Linked DNA regions of Homo sapiens: region 1 is linked to region 2. Evidence: promoter capture Hi-C in 16 types of primary human blood cells and fetal thymus (Javierre and others, 2016). All regions are on one chromosome and are shown on one strand. Each heading gives the region's core, a stretch centred on a gene start or on the middle of the fragment in contact. The rest is flanking DNA. Distances are from core to core; before and after follow the strand shown. Region 1 overlaps CTNNA1-AS1 (CTNNA1 antisense RNA 1). Region 2 holds the start of MATR3 (matrin 3).

Region 1 (2,700 bases), core at 35-2,534, 540 kb before region 2:
TGCTGGGATTACAGGTGTGAGCCACCGCACCCAGCCAAAGTTTTTAACTTTTTTTGATCTCAAGACTCCTTTACACTATAAAAAATTTGAAGATCTCAAAGAACTCTTGCTTATGAAAGTTTTATCTATCAATATTTACTATAGGCCTGGCAGGGTGGCTCACACCTGTAATCTCAACACTTTGGGAGGCTGAGGCAGCAGGATCACTGAGGCTTGGAGTTCAAAACCAGCTTGGTCAACAGAGTGAGACCCCTGTTTCTACAAAAGAAAAATTTAAAAATTAACCACACGTGGTGGTGTGCATCTGTAGTCCCAGCTACTGGGGAGGCTGAGGTGGAAGGATTGCTTGCACCTGGGAGATCAAGGCTACACTGAGCTATGATAGCACCACTGCACTCCAGCCTGGGCAACAGAGCAAGACCCTGTATTAGAAATTAAAATAAACAATTTCAAAATATTTATTAATTCATTAAAAAATAACAATAGCAAGTCCATTACATCTTATCAATAAATAACATTTTTGAAAAGAAAAATAACCATGTTTTCTAAAACAAAAGAAAAATTCAGGGAGAACTGTTGTTGTTTTGCATTTTTACAAATCTCTATCTGACTTAATAAAAGATAGCTGGATTCTCATATGTGCTTTCACATTGCATGTGATGCCACATCATACATCATTTAGCCTGTGGAATACTCTACTGTACACCCGGGAGAAAATGAGCATAAAAAAGCAAATGATATTTTAGAATTATTGTGAAAATAGTTTTTACCACATTACTCCCTGAAAAGTTATCAGTGATGTCCAGACTATACTTTGAGAATCCCTGCTCTAACATTTAGAGGTTAGGAGGAATTAGAAGTCATCATCAATGGAGACTAAGAAGCTTAGCCAGGAAGGCTGGATGGAAATCAGGAAAGCCTGGTGCCCTGGAGGCCCAATGAAGAAAGTGTTTCAAGGAGGAGAGTGACCAAATGCTGCTGATTGTACAAGTCAACTGAGGAAGGACGGACCATTGGATTTTGCAACGTGGAGGCCATCAGGGACCTTCATAAAAGCAGTTTTGGTGGAAAGGCGAATGCTAAAGCCAGACTGGAGATGAGTCACCACATAAAGGTCACTTCTCAGGTCTCCGAATCCCAGGGTAGTTAATTTACCCACAAACCTACATGTATCTCTCCCCTATCTTCACACTTGCCTTTCTTTTTTCCTGGTTTACGTGTGTGCCTGTGTGTGTGTGTGTGTGTGTGTGTGTGTGTGTATTGACACAGGGTCTCAATCTGTTGCTCAGGCTGGAGTGCAGTGGTGCAATCTCGCCTCACATCAAACTCCACCTCCCTGGCTCAAGTGATCCTCCCACCTCAGCCCTCTCCACATAGCTGGGACTACAGGTGCATGCCACCACACCCAGCTAATTTTTGTATCCTTTGTAAAGACAGGGTTTTGCCATGTTGTGCAGGCTGGTCTCCAACTCCTGAACGCAAACGATCCTCCGCCTCAGCCTCCCAGAATGCTGGAATTACCGGCATGAGCCACCGTGCCCAGTCAGTTTACCTGTTTTAGTATCTGTCTTCATCATTACCTTTAAGTGGTGTGAAAACAGGGATCAAGTCAGTCTCAGTTTTTATTCACTTCCTCAGCACACAGCAAGTGCCTGGGATATAGAGAATGCTCCAGCCTTCCCTGGTAAGCTTTTCACGATTTCTCAGGAGTAGGAAACTGACTCTCTTTAGGCACACTGCAAATCTCTCATATCTTCCTGTCACCTTACCCTTCTTTTCCCAAAACAAACCCTGTAATTTCATCTTCAGGGTCCCATGCTTAGAGAGATCCCATGCTGGCTGGGCGCAGTGGCTCACACCTGTAATCCCAGCACTTTGGGAGGCTGAGGCAGGCAGATCACAAGGTCAAGAGATTGAGACCATCCTGGCCAACATGCTGAAACCCCATCTCTACTAAAAATACAAAAATTAGTTGGGCGTGGTGGCAGGCGCCTGTAGTCCCAGCTACTTGGGAGGCTGAGGCAGGAGAATCGCTTGAACCCAGGAGGCGGAGGTTGTAGTGAACCGAGATCACACCACTGCACTCCAGCCTGGTGACAGAGCAAGACTCCGTCTCAAAAATAAATAAATAAATAAATAAAAATAAAAAAATAATAATAATAAAGAAAGAGCCCATGCTTGGTTTAATACTCTGCTGTTGCTGTCTTAAAATGGTTAATAGTTTTTGAACAAGGGGCCTTAAAATTAAGAATCTTGTCCCGAGTGAAATGATGAATATACAAAGTTATGGAGCATAATCCTTTAACTCTGTCTCTTGTTACTTTATCCAAATACTTTATTGACTGATTACTATTGTGTTAGGCTGTTCTTGCACTGCTAAAAAGAAATACCTGAGACTGTGTAATTTATAAAGAAAAAACAGGCCGGGTGCGGTGGCTTATGCCTGTATCCCAGCACTTTGGGAGGCTGAGGCAGGCGGATCACCTGAGGTCAAGAGTTCGAGACCAGCCTGGCCAACACGGTAAAACTCCGTCTCTACTGAAAATACAAAAATTAGCCGGGCGTGGTGGTGTGCACCTGTAATCCCAGCTACTTGGTAAGCTGAGGCAGGAGAATCGTTTGAATCCAGGAGGTAGAGGTTGCAGTCTGGGTGACAAAAGTGAAACTCCGTCACACACAGACACACACACACAAAAAAAA
Region 2 (2,700 bases), core at 89-2,588:
ATTAACTGTGCTGGAAAATTCCCAACTCTCCAGATGCGGAGTTCTGCAAGGATGGTTGGGGAGAGAGTTGCAGCCAGATTAGGTCTCCAAACAATTTACTTAAGCCTCTGAAGGCCGGAGCTCAAATCCCTCCAACCCGGGTACCTAACCAGTACCTCAGTCCCAAGAGTGTATTGCATTCAGTCAAATTCACCAAAAGGCGGCGGTGGTCTTTAGGAAGGAAAAGGCTCGCGGTCCTCCGCCTCAACGACCCTCCTGCACAGAATTCCTGATTTTAAAAACCAGCTGGCCACTTTGGGAGGCCGAGGCGGGCGGATCACAAGGTCAGGAGATCGAGAGCATCCTGGCTAACACGGTGAAACCCCCGCCTCTATTAAAAATGCAAAAAGAAATTAGCCAGGCGTCGTGGCGGGCGCCTGTAGTCCCAGCTACTCCGGAGGCTGAGGCAGGAGAATGGCGTGAACCCGGGAGGCGGAGTTTGCAGTGAGCCGAGATCGCGCCACTGCACTCCAGCCTGGGTGACAGAGTGAGACTCCGTCTCAAAACAAAAAACAAAACAAAAAAAACAGCTGGCTGGGCGTGTAGGCTCACGCCCTTAATCCAATGCTGAGAGGCGGAGGCGGGAGCACTGCTTGAGCCAAGGAGTTCCAGACCAGCCTAGGCAAAATAACGAGACACCATCTCTACGGAAAAAATAAAAATAAAAAAGTTAGCTGGCCATGGTGGTGCGAGCCTGTAGTCCCAGCTACTGGGGAGGCTGAGGTGGGAGGATCCCTTGAGGATAGGAGTTCGAGGCTGCAATGAGCCATGATAACGCCAGCGCACTCCAACCTGAGCAACACAGTTTATTTATGATAAATAAATAAACATACCTAAATAAAAACCAGCCAAAATGGTATCGTTTTCCCTTTGTGGCCCCAATATCTGGCGCTTTCCACCATTCCTTGGCAAACAGAACAACCAGAGAGCATAAAAGTCGAGTCTAAGCCAGGGACTCTCGCGAATCCCTTCTAAGGCATACCCTATTTAAACTTTGTATTATGCTATTCAGGAGGTTGACAAACAGCCTTTTCGGGAATGGGACTCGAACTCGTAAGCCACGTCTGTTCCTCCATTTCCCGCCTCAGCTGGATGACGGAGAGGGATCTCCGGGATTAAAGAACAACGACCGCAGGCGAGTGCACGAGCGAGGTGCGCGCGCTGAGTAGGGGGAGGGGCCTGGCGCGCGCCGAACCAGATCGAGGGGGTGGGGGCGAGCTCTCTCGCGAGAGTGGGTTTGTTCTTGGGCTGCAGCCGCTGCCGCCGCTTCTCGCCAGCGCCGTTGCTGCGGGGGATTGTGGGAGTCTCCGCGTCCCGCTCGCTGGGAGAGAGGTACCTCTCCTTTTCCCTCTCCCTTTCCCTAAGGTAGGCGTGAAGCGGGTAAGAGTCGGGGTCGGGTGGCTGGGGGTTCTCCGTGTCCGCCGGGAGGGGACAACGACGGCGACAGGGGCTGCGGGGAGCCGGCGGCGCGCCTTTCTTGCTCGCTCCCGCTCTGCCTCCCTCCGCGTTGCGTATGTGAGCCGCCTGATCGGCGGCCGCCATGTTAGGAGCGCAGTGGCGGCGCAACCAGCCTTCTAGGGCGGCGGAGGTGAGCGGTCCGGGAGGGAAACACGCGGCCGGCCAAGGGCCCAGGGTGCGGCGGGAGATTTTGGGTGAAGAGGTGCGCTGACCGGCCGAGCTTCCTGCGCGTCCTGGGCTCGTTGTGGGCGGGGGCGGGACGACTAGCCCGTTACACGCGGGCCGCGGCGCTGAGGGGGAGGGAGGAGCTCGCTCGAGGCCTGAGGGACAGACTGTACACTGGGGGCTTGCCGTTTGAGGAGGATGGTTAAGATATCTAAGTCCTTGGGTAGCGCCAGTGCCAAATAACCCGTTCGCCTTTTTTTCTCTGAAAATGTTCCCCCAAAATGGAGGATTTCGCAGACTCTGAAGAGCCTGCTTGTTTGAGCAGCGTTTCTTTCTTTTCCCGGTGTCTCGGCCTTCACGCCGCTCCTTGCCCATCGCCTCAGAGCGCCCCCTAAGACTCCCGGCCCACACGCGCGCGCGCGCGCGGCGTTAGCTGGACATCAGAAACAATTCCTCCCCGCCCCCCATCGCGTAAAAATGGCCGAAAAATGAAACGTTAACGCTTGTTTTTCGTACTGCGTCGTGGAACAAGCCGCCTGCAGTACAGTGCGAGGCGGGTGATTTGCACTTGTTTAGTCAAGTCACCTCACATCCTTTTTCTCTTTATCAAAATAGTATTAGTCCAGGTTCCTCCAGAGAGGATCGTGTGGTGTGGGACCTTCCGGTTTCCAGACAAAGGGTTTTGGAGTACCGTGGTGTAGTCGCCGCATCGTTCTTTGCATTTCGAGCTCTGTGCCATGTTCTGTGTTCGGCATTTACCGTGGATGAATATCCCCTAGGTGTTTATCCTGCTCTGTGGCCCTGTTCTGTGGAATATTCCTATTGGATCAGTTACAGTTTTTTAGCCAGATATTTCTAGAACGGTTATGGTGGTTCTGAAATGGCTAGTCTTTCGGGCGCGCTGGAATAATGTGAAGAATCGTTGATTTCGTAGGTAGGGGTCACGAGATTTTGTATTGGTACTGCGTTCTGTGTTTTAAACCTTGGCTTAAGATTTCTGAATAGTCGGTAAAATACATTTTTCTCCCAGGGAAATCT

The links. The method cuts DNA at HindIII sites, captures the fragments that hold promoters and counts their contacts. A CHiCAGO score of 5 or more calls a contact.
Region 1: a fragment that was not itself captured here is called in contact with the fragment with the promoter of MATR3 in region 2 in 1 of 17 cell types (endothelial precursors); the score reaches 5.2 in endothelial precursors.

The regions. Positions count from the first base shown.
Region 1 is chr5:138,747,679-138,750,378 of GRCh38, forward strand. All of the region lies in intron 1 of CTNNA1-AS1 (CTNNA1 antisense RNA 1), which reads right to left. Among named protein-coding and RNA genes, the nearest start is that of CTNNA1, 4.4 kb to the right of the region's middle. The HindIII fragment of the contact is 805 bases long and covers 883-1,687 here.
Region 2 is chr5:139,292,402-139,295,101 of GRCh38, forward strand. MATR3 (matrin 3) reads left to right here and starts at 1,339. Exons shown (of 15, transcript NM_018834.6): 1 at 1,339-1,404. LOC124901081 (a long non-coding RNA gene) reads right to left here and starts at 1,156. Exons shown (of 4, transcript XR_007058956.1): 1 at 873-1,156. RefSeq lists enhancers at 1,411-2,114, 2,115-2,700. The HindIII fragment of the contact is 8,607 bases long and covers 1-2,700 here.